Regions from separate parts of the Homo sapiens genome. Here region 2 is linked to region 1. Evidence: promoter capture Hi-C in human tissues and cell types (Jung and others, 2019). All regions are on one chromosome and are shown on one strand. The core of a region is centred on a gene start or on the middle of the fragment in contact, and the rest is flanking DNA. Distances in the headings are between cores, read along the strand shown.

Region 1 (5,448 bases), core at 834-3,333:
AGAGGATTCTCCAGGTTTGCCCAGGGTTCCTTGGTCACAGCACTTGTAGGGGAGGGAAGAATCAGTTTGTGCCTCACCCTGATGGTTACAACGCTGACCGGCTTGCCGTGTGCAGGTGAAGACCAATTAGAAGACCTGGGAATTCCCACTCCTGCGCCCACCAAACTCCCCCACCGGCAGCCAGCAGCACCTCCATGCACCTGACTTCACACCTGGCTTCACCTTGTCTCGCAGAGTTTTTTGTTTTTTGGTTTTGAGATGGAATTTCGTTCTTGTTGCCTGGTCTGCGGCTGCAGTGGTGTGATCTCGGCTCACTGCAACCTCCACCTCCTGGGTTCAAGCAATTCTCTTGCCTCAGTCTCTCAAGTAGCTGAGATTACAGGCACGCACCACTACACCCGGCTGATTTTTGTATTTTTAGTAGAGACAGGGTTTCCCTTTTTGGCCAGGCTGGTGTCAAACTCCTGACCTTGGGTGATCCCCGCAACTCAGCCTCCCAAAGTGCTGGGATTGCAGGCGTGAGCCACTGCGCCTGGCCGCAGTTTTGATTCTGGAAGGCTGACCTTAGGGAGCCACTGCCTCGGCTCCACACACCCCAGAGGAGATGGGGGTCAGAGGTGTGGATGCAGGACAAGCACTGGCCCTGGGCTGGCCTCGACTGCTGAGTCCCAGGCTACTGTGTCTGAAAATGGGAAATTGTAAAATGGAGCAGGTGTAGGCAACAATTTGGTCACAAAAGGAAAATCAACTGGGGAGGAAGACAAGAAAAGCCAGCGAGGGCTGAGTCCGGAACCTGCGTCAGCACCCGTGAGTCCCCGAAGAGGAAGCTCCACAGGACCTCCGCGGTCAGCCCGGCTCCTGGGCCACACCCTGACATTAGCCCTCCCGGGGCACACTCTGTGTTGGTTTTTTAAAATTCTGATGGCTGATTTCCTGGGTTTGAGCTCCTAGCCCTGCCAACTACTAGCTGTGTGACCTCCCCTCCGGCTTCAGGTTCCTCTTCTGTGAAATGGAGACAGTAATAACTACTTCAAAGATTGTGGTGAGGATTAAAAACAAAACAAACACATCCCCCAAACCGCAAAACCACACTTCACCTACAGTCCACAGCGCTTAGTGGAGACCCTAGAGAACAGCAATTACTCGATACACTATTGGCTTTCATTGCAACTCTTCCAGGAATAAAATGAATGAAATGTTAGTTGAGGAAAGGATGCAACAAGGGGGAACAAAGGCACACATGTATCTCATCAAAGCAAACCGCTTTGTTCTCGATATGACTGTGACATGGGTGTTCAGACGCTAACACCAGCGTTCGCCAGCTGTGTTACCCTGAGAGTGTCATTTCACCTCTCAGGGCCTCAGTTATCTATAAAATGGGAATGACATGGCACTTGTCCCTGCAGGCCATCAGGAAATGCTTGGAAAGCATGTTTCGAGGTGCCTGGGGCACAGTCAGCTGTCAAAGGGGGATGGCTATGCTGTCCCTTTCTATTTTTTTTTTTTTTTTCTGAGATGGAATCTCACTCTGTCACCCAGTCTGGAGTGCAATGGCGACATCTCAGCTCACTACAACTTCCACCTCCCGGGTTCAAGCGATTCTCCAGCCTCAGCATCCCGAGTAGCTGGGATCACAGGCATGCGCCACCATGCCCGGTTAATTTTTGTAATTTTAGTAGAGATGGGGTTTCGCCATGTTGGCCAGGCTAGTGTCAAACTCCTGAGCTTAAACAGTCCACCTACCTCGCCTCCCAAAGTGCTGGGATTACAGGCGTGAGCCACCACGCCCAGCTGGTCTACTATTCTTTAGGATACTGCTATTGTCATCATGATCTGGACCAAGCGAAACAGGAGGAAAGAGAAGTAGAAATCTCACCCCGGGAGCTACCGCTGGTCCTTGGAAGGAAGAAGTACTGTACCTTCTCTGCCCGGGTCAGCAGGAGCCTGGGCCATGCTGACAGCAGCTGCAAGGAGTCGGAGAGACTTGGCAGGTGTGCAGGCTTCTGCACTGTGGCCCTGAGAGGGTGGGCTAGGTCGAGGCTGGGGCTTCTGAAGTGGCCGAGCCTGGTGCTTCTTGCAGCTCTGAACCCACAAGGGGAGGGATGCCAGCTTCCACTGGGCAGGTGTCAGCTGCTTACAGCCCGGAAATAGATGCCTAGCCAGGCCGGCCAGATTCGGTTTCAGGAGAAAAAGAAAATGAAACTTCTCTGTTCGTCTTTTGAAAGAAAAAAAAAGTGGAAGCCAGGTGGATGAGCAAGACAGAGTTGGGGACCTGACTTGATGTTGACAGGGAGGAGCTGTAAACTTGGCAAGACCAGAGCGTCCTCCGAAGAGGCCTTTGAGACAGAGGACTTCCCTCACCTTCCCCGTTCCAGGCACAGCCCACCTGGACCTCTACATTTTTATTTTCTGAATCAGCATCAGAGAACTGAAGAAAATAAAAATAAAAAAAAGAGCATGCACCACGTGGAGGGGGATGCCAGGGCGTGGCATCACTCTGATGATGTGAGGGGCTGGGGCTGGTTATCTGGTTTCTGTGTTTTTGTTTGTTTTTGAGACAGGGTTTCTGTCATCCAGGCTGGAGTGCAGTGGCGTGATCACGGCTCACGGCAGCCTCGACCTTCCGGACTCCAGCGATCCTCCCACCTCTCAGCCTCCCTAGTAGCTGGGACCACAGGCCTAGACCACCATGCCCGGCTAATTTTTGTATTTTCTGTAGAGATGGGGTTTCATCGTGTTGCCCAGGCTGGTCTCAAACTCCTGGGCTCAAGCGATCTGCCTGCCTTGGCCTCCCACAGTGCTGGGATTCCAGCCGCAAGCCCCCACGCCCGGCCCCGCTGGTTCCTGTAGTACTTCCTCCTCGGGGACTCACAGGTGCTACAGAGGCACCGTCCCCAGCTCTCAGTGGCTTTTCTTGTCTTCTTCCAGTTTGTTTCCCTTGCCCACACTAGGGGCAGAACATTTAGGTGCGTGAAGGCCCTGAGATTGTTCTTGTGTGTATCCATGTGAGCCTCTTTAATGAACACCTATTATGCGTTTTCCAATCTCAAGTGCTCCTCCAACCCATCTACAGGGTAGGGGCCAGTTCTGTCTTCTTCTCAGGGGGGAAACTGAGGCTAGAAAGGCAAGATCACTTGTCCAAGGCCACACAGAGTCCATGACAGAGCTTGTCCTGTCCATTCCCCAATTGTGTTTCCTGATCTATAACACCCAGAAGTCACTGGTGAATCACCCTTAGTGCACAGATGGCGTGGAGTTCCCCGCCTCATCATAAAACTTGCTTATTAATTCCAGAGTCAGATGCCTGGGGTCAGCAGCCGAGTGGTTCGGAATGCAAGCCTGGGTCAGCATGCTTGGGTCCAAACCTGGCTCCGCCATTTACCGGCTGTGTGACCTCGGACAAATTATTTAACCCCTCTGTGCCTCAGTTTCCCCATGTGTAAAAGGACTTAATCAAAGGACCTAGCGCATGGGGTCGAGGTGAGGACCTAAGGGGCTGATACAGCCCAGCTGTCGGGCTAGAGCCCCAGAGCCATCCGTAGTCACGGGCACCGTGGTCACCTCACAGGAATGCTTCTGGGAGAGGACCCGTTGCTTACATAATTCTCAAAAGGGCCAGTGACCTCAGAAAAACTCAGAGCCACTGTTCTCTTCCAGATCACAGAAGGAGGAACTGAGGCCCACAGAGGTGAATGCTGTGTACAAGGCCCCCCAGCTTTTGGCAGCCAAGGGGGTTGAGAGCTCAGCCCTGGAAGTCCCTGGACTTGGGGTCTGTGTCTCATCTGCAGAGGGCTGGGAGGGCTAGAGACGTCTGTGCTCCTTGCAGACCCCATTTATGCATAAGGAGCAGCTTAGCGGCAAATACAAATGGAAAGGGGGTCCGGAGGTTTATCCTGAAGCTATCTGTCTTTGCAGAGCGAGCACCTGGAGCCCAGGTCTTCCGCCCTGCCTGCATGTTAAGTGTTTGAAGCAAAAAAAAAGTCTCAATGCCCAGGCCGGCCCAGACTAGTCAACTCCAACCTCTGCGGCTGGGGCCCGAGGGTGAGATTTTTTATGCTCCTGGGTGACTTTTCCTGCTTCCAGGTGGAGAACCAGTAAGTCTGGGGCAAGTCAATAACAGCAAACTGCAGGATGCTTTTATTCTCCTTTTATGTAAAAGCGAAAACTGCAGGTATCACCCTATGAAATAACAATAGTGCTCTTTAAATGGGGGGGTAGGTGGGGTGCTGAGGGAGATGATGAAGGTGCCCTCCGGAAGGGGCTCCGGCTGAGCCCTGCAAGGCTGAGTCCCTTGGGTGTCTGGGGTGCCACGCCCGAACTGGCCACCAGGTGATGCCGCTCACCAACCTGGGCTTGGGCGCACCTTGGCTTCAAGTTCCCTCTGATCTGCAGGGAGGAGCTCCTACCCCAACCCATGGTTGGACTCCAGACTTGATGAATCACAGCTCCAAGACGTGCCCACCCCTCCCACTGCCTTGTCCTGCATCATCCTTTATTCTTCCTGTCTCTTCAGTCACTCATCGTGGTTTCTTCACTCATCTTTCCTGGAAGGAGTCAGATTCCAGCTGTTTCTCTGTGAAGCCTCCAGGCAGTTCTTTGTGCTCTTCCGGCCTGGCCTCCCAGTGTTGGTCTTGACACAGCCCACCACTCCCCCGTGGGGAAACTCTCTCTCCCCCCATCTCCAGGGCCCATGCTAGCTTCTCCCCTTCCTTCCCTGGCCTCTGCAGCTCAGGCCTTGACCCCAGGTCCCTGGTGGGCTTGCAGGTCAGGTTGAGGGATGTTAGCTTGGTCTTGGGTGCCAGCCTTACTTCTAGGAAGATGGCTTCTGCTGCAGGGAGGAGGCTGGTGCCCCTCACGGCTGGTCTCCATCCAGACTGTGCTTGGATGACCCCTTTCTGTCCCCGTGGCCACATCCTGAAGGCACATGGAGCCCCTCTGGGCCTGAGCCATTTTTAGGAGTCTGTAGCAGGGACCACCATGCCAGTGGAGACCAAGCGCCTCGGGAAGTTCCCTGGACAAGGATTCTGTCTTGTCTCTTCTCCAGGGCAGGTTCTCCTTCCCAGCTGTGTGGCGCTACCTCTCTGAGCCGCGGTTTCTTTAACTATAAAGCAGAGATACTAAGAAAAAGCATTTTTGACACTTAGTATGTGCTCACAACATTTGCATAAGTTAGAAAACATGATGCATCTCCACAGTATCTCTTTAGACAGCAAACAAACAAAAGAGAGCAATAGACAAAAAGAAGAAAACATTTCACGTGGGTAGGTTCCACCTTTCTTTGCATTCCATGGCACATCTGGAGATGAAGCCAGGAATCTGCTATGTGCTTGTCACCCACTGAGTGGGAGTCTTACTTTTAAATACTTAGATTGCCTTTATTTCTCTTCTCTATTTAAGAGCTGTTTAAGTTGAGTTTGACCCTAAGGATTATCTTTAAGCCTAAATACC
Region 2 (5,448 bases), core at 1,509-4,008, 1.2 Mb before region 1:
TATTGTACAACTATTCTCTTTTTAAAAGTAGTCTCAGTGATCATCCTGTAAGATGCGTACAGACCAGGATGCATGCCCGATGGCACATGGATCAGATTTTGTTGGCACATAGATCACATGCTATCATGTACCTGCTCCCTCTGGCTGGTCAGAGTTTATAATCTGACCCTTTGGAGGGTTTGGAATCCATATCACTCTCTAAAGGTTGTAGATCCCTGTTATAAACAAAACACGACCAGCTTCACTAATATATAACTTAGAGGAATAAAAAAAAAGTTCATTTGAAAGTATTAAGTATTTCCTGGCAAGGTGACATTCGGTACCCTATTTTGAATATGCATTGCAGAAATACTAATGTTTTAGTTGTGGCTTCTGTCTGTTTGATAATTAAACTAGGCTGGTTGCAGTGGCTCATGTCTGTAATCCCAGCACTTTGAGAAGCCAAAGTGGGAGGATCACTTGAGCCCAGAAGTTTATGGTCAGCCTGAGCAATGTAGTGAGACCTCATCTCTACAAAAAATTCTTTTAATCAGCTGGGCATGGTGGCACGCGCCGATAGTCCCAGCTACTCAGGAGGCGGAGGCAAGGATGATCATTTGAGCCCAAGAGGTTGAGCCTGCAGTGAGCTGTGACCATGCCGCTGCACTCCAGCCTGGGCGACAGAGCAAGACCCTGTCTGAAAAAAATAATAATAAACTTAATTTTTCACTCAATATTTGCAGCCCTAGAGCAAATTAAAGAAGCTCTTAGGTACAAGTTGTACTTCAGTTAACCATGCATGAATGTGTCATTGTCTGATAATACTCCATCCTTAGTTTACTCAGTGTTCATTTGTAAATAATGAAGCTCACTTCTGTAGTTTTTGGAATAATATAACCAGTAAATATTTAGTTTTGGAAATCTATTCAAAAAATACTTTCATATGTTCCAGAAAGCACTTTTTTTCTTATGATACCTGTGTAATATCTAATAATTGTTTTATAGATTCTTTTCATCAGCCAGATATTTTCCACATTTCCTCTGGATTTAATTGTTCACCAGTTGGTCACTTGTATTAATGTCTCTGTCCCAACAGGAAGCTGAAATGTTACGTTCCATCTCTTTTCATCCTTCTGGAGACTTTATACTTGTCGGAACTCAGCATCCTACTCTTCGCCTTTATGATATCAACACCTTTCAATGTTTTGTCTCTTGCAATCCTCAAGATCAACACACCGATGCTATATGTTCCGTTAATTACAATTCTAGTGCCAATATGTACGTAACTGGAAGCAAGGACGGCTGCATCAAATTATGGGATGGTGTTTCAAATCGATGCATCACAACTTTTGAGAAAGCACATGACGGTGCTGAAGTTTGTTCTGCCATTTTTTCCAAAAATTCTAAATACATTCTCTCAAGTGGAAAAGACTCTGTAGCTAAACTTTGGGAAATATCAACGGGACGAACACTGGTCAGATACACGGGTATGTGAGACGTTGATGTTACTTAACATTTCTGTAGTGTTTACACTTTCCAGAACTCTCTTTTAAGACCTCACAATAGAGCAACACAATATCTATGCATTGAGCAAGGCAGATGTTACCCTTTCTTAGATAAGAGGAAACCAAGACTTACAGGTTAAGTCATTTAGCCAAGGCTACACGACTTGGAAATAGAACGGTGCTTTCTTTGCTCTTCTGAGCACCTCACACCGTGGACTAGGGCTGGATTCCATGCAAGTAACATTTGAGAACCTGGTGATCCATTTGTAGACTGGCATGCCCTCTTCCCACAGAAATGTGAAAGCAATCCAGAGAAAAGTTTCCAATAGTAGATCTCAGTATTATTAATATATGTATTCATGAAAGAATGGCTGAGAGGGAAGATCTTATCCCATTCCTAAGAGAGCAGACCTAGCCCGCAAAGGAAACCACGTTAATTCTGAATGCAGATATAAAGTAGGCTCAGCAGACAGAAAAAAATTGCATCCACTGAATTCTCATTTATGTATGTTGGTCTCATTGGTAACAGTAGTGCCTGTGGAGTCTTTTTATAATGAAATCCATTTAAATTTATCCTATCACTAGTAGGGCCCAAGTCTGGTTATTTGATAATGAATGTTAAAACACTGTCTTCTGTTCCTTGTAGCAGCAAAGACTGTTGTTTGGTAGAAAACCTCCAGAAAATTTCTGATTGTTTCTTCCATTGTGAGATATGTTTGTATCATACACTAAAATTGGCATGAGCATAACTCAAAAAAAATCACAAGAAAACAGTATTGGAAGGGACTGGATTGTGTTTAAGTTTGCATTGAAGAGTCAGTGACATCTGACCCACTAGGGGGCAGCATAACTTGCCTTAGATTTGTCTCATTGTAACCAAAGTTCCCTTCCCCAGCCATCTTTCTGGCTTCTGGTACCACTAGCAAATCTTAGGAAGAGCCATTTTTATCATAATTCTTGGTGACTTCATTGAAACACTTGTATAAAGTTGTTCTGAAAAGTATTTATTATAAAGAACTACTTTATAATAGTTGTGTTTGTTGCAAAAAGAAGATAAAAAAGTGATCAGGGTAAATGTGAAAGTACTCCCCCTATAGAAGTTATAACTGTTTTAAGGAGTGTGCTGTATCTGGACAGATACACACCAGCCTACTGACAATAGCTTATATATTTGCTCTAGGAATGTTTTGGGTGTTTTATAATAGTATGAGGTTGATTGGCTTGTTTTAGTGGGGAATAGCAGTGTGGTTTTTCAAAAATGTGATTATGCTGAATTTATGCACAGATTCCCCTTTTCCTTTTTTCTCATTTCACAGGTCAAGCGCCTGTCATGTCAGCATGTTAAGATTTCTGTTCCCAGTTTTAATAATTAGTTAGAATTTGGGCCAGGCGCGGTGGCTCACACCTGTAATCCCAGCACTTTGGGAGGCCGAGGTGGGCAGATCACAAGGTCAGGAGTTTGAGACCAGCCTGGCCAATATGGTGAAACCCCGTCTCTATGAAAAATACAAAAATTAGCTGGGCTTGGTGGCGGGCGCCTGTAGTCCCAGCTACTTGGGAGGCTGAGGCAGGAGAATAGCTTGAACCTGGGAGGTGGAGGTTGCAGTGAGCCGAGATTGCGCTGCTGTACTCCAGCCTGGGCGACAGAGTAAGACTCCGTCTCAAAAAATGATAATAATAATAATTAGTTAGAATTCAGAGGGTTTTTGAAATGATGAAAAAGGAAAAACTATCAAAACTTTAGAAATTGGGATGCAAAAAATTAAAAACAATATAAATAACATACAGGACTGGGAGAAAATGGTTATAGCATATATACAGATGTTAGACATTGAGTTAACATCCTTAATCTATAAAGAGAACTCATATGGGAAAAAGATGAGTCCAAACTCGAGAAAAAAGGAGCCAAAGGACAGGGGGCTGCAGAAGAGAAAAATGGTCAGGAAATGTAAGAAAAGGTGGCCAGCCTTGCTGCAGACCCAAGAAATGAATATGGGGACCTGGTTTTGTTAATCAGATTTCAGGAGTCTTAAAGATTTATATTATCTACTATTGATAGAGATTTCGGGAAATCATATTTTGTTGGTCAGAGTCAGCTGGTAAAATATTTCAGCACAGTTTGGTGTCATATCAAAATTTTAAATACACGCTTTTTGACCCACTATATCTACTCTTAGAAATTCAACCTAAAGAGGTAATTGGACAGACATGCACATGCCCATAAAAGGATGTGTGTCCCAACATCATTTGGAGTGGCTGAAAGTTAGAAACAGCATAAATGTCCAATAAGAAGCACTGAGGAAATCTGTTACGCATCCATGGACAACATACACCTTTAAAAATAAGTATGCATGCTAACATGGGCTGAGCACTCGCACTCCAGAGCCTCCTTTGCATTCTCTTATTCTTAATCCTCACAGCCTTATGGGGTAGGTTCTGTAACTACTCCATGGAACAGATGAGAAAATTAAGGCTGAGGAATGTTAAGTAATTTGCCCAGGGTCACATTAGTGTTGAACCCACATCTGACCACACAGACTTTGTGTTTTTATCCACTAAGCTGTATTCTGTCTTTACAGATCTGCACTACATATGCTTGAATATTAATAGTATATGACAAATGCTCTGACTTAAAGAAGTTACAAATGAAGCCAGGGACTGTGGCTCACACCTATTATCCCAGCACTTTGGGAGGCCAAGGTGGGCAGATCATCTGAGGTCAGGAGTTTGAGACCAGCCTGGCCAACATGGTGAAACCCCATCTCTACTAAAAATACAAAAATTAGTTGAGTGTGGTGGCACATGCCTGTAATCCCAGCTACTCAGGAGGCTGAGGCAGGAGAATCTCTTGAACCCAGGAGGCAGAGGTTGCAGTGAGCCGAGATCACACCATTGCACTCCAGCCTGGGCAACAGAGTAAGACTCTATCTCAAAAAAAAAAAAAAAAGAGAGAATTTACAAGTGAGCACATAACACTTAGATATTTCGAAAGAGTATTCACCAAAGTATTGACTGTTACCTCTGATGGGTGCAATTATTAGGCAGTTTTTATTTTCCTTTTTATACTTTATTTGGTACTTTTAAACATAAAATATGTAATTTATAGTCATAAAAAGGCTTCCTTTTGGAAAGTAGATATTCATATACTTTGTCTCAGTAATTCTGTCTCTAGGAATTTACTCCTAAGGAAATAAAGCTTTCTGTACAAAGGATGTTCATTACAACATTACTTATAATTGATATAAACTAAATGTCAGGAAGTAAAAGAATTGTTAAACAGGCCGGGCATGGTGGCTCACACCTGTAATCCCAGCACTTTGGGAGGCCGAAGCAGGTGGATCACAAGGTCAGGAGATAAAGACCATCCTGGCCAACCTGGTGAAACCCTGTCTTTACTAAAAATACAAAAATTGGCTGGGTGTGGTGGTGTCCACCTGTAGTCCCAGCTACTTGGGAGGCTGAGGCGGGAGAATCACTCGAACCCAGGAGGCGGAGGTTGCAGTGAGCCGAGATCACGCCACTGCACTCCAGCCTGGCGACAGAGTGAGACTCTGTCTAAAAAAAAAAAAAAAAGATCACACACAAAAGAATTGTTAAATAAGTAATGGGGCTTCTAAACATGAGGCACTTTGCATCTAGTAAAAAACATGGAAAAATGTACTCAGCATAAAGTTGGTTAAAACTATAATAGAAAAATATAGTGGCAACAATTTTATATGTATTTTTAAAATGTGTTTTTTTATGCCTCAAAGTACATTAGGACAGTAACAGTATTGCTTCAGGTGATCTGGTGATCTCCTTTTTTTTTTTCCTGATGCAGTCTTGCTCTTGCTCTGTTGCCTGTTGCCCAGACTGGTCTTGAACTCCTGGGCTCAAGCAGCCCTCCTTCCTCAGCCTCCCAAAGTACTGGGATTACAGACGTGAGCCACTGTGCCTGGTTTGATTTTCTTTTTTGTACTTTTTT

The links. Contacts are between HindIII fragments. The study calls those that stand out against the background at their distance.
Region 2: a fragment that was not itself captured here is called in contact with the fragment with the promoter of ZBP1 in region 1 in 1 of the 25 tissues and cell types used here (spleen).

The regions. Positions count from the first base shown.
Region 1 is chr20:57,618,343-57,623,790 of GRCh38, forward strand. ZBP1 (Z-DNA binding protein 1) reads right to left here and starts at 2,084. Exons shown (of 8, transcript NM_030776.3): 1 at 1,920-2,084. The coding sequence starts at 1,953. RefSeq lists enhancers at 1-496, 674-783, 1,864-1,913, 2,044-2,333. The HindIII fragment of the contact is 12,502 bases long and covers 1-5,448 here.
Region 2 is chr20:56,397,892-56,403,339 of GRCh38, forward strand. CSTF1 (cleavage stimulation factor subunit 1) reads left to right here. Exons shown (of 6, transcript NM_001324.3): 5 at 1,076-1,466. Among named protein-coding and RNA genes, the nearest start is that of CSTF1, 8.0 kb to the left of the region's middle. The HindIII fragment of the contact is 6,245 bases long and covers 1-5,448 here.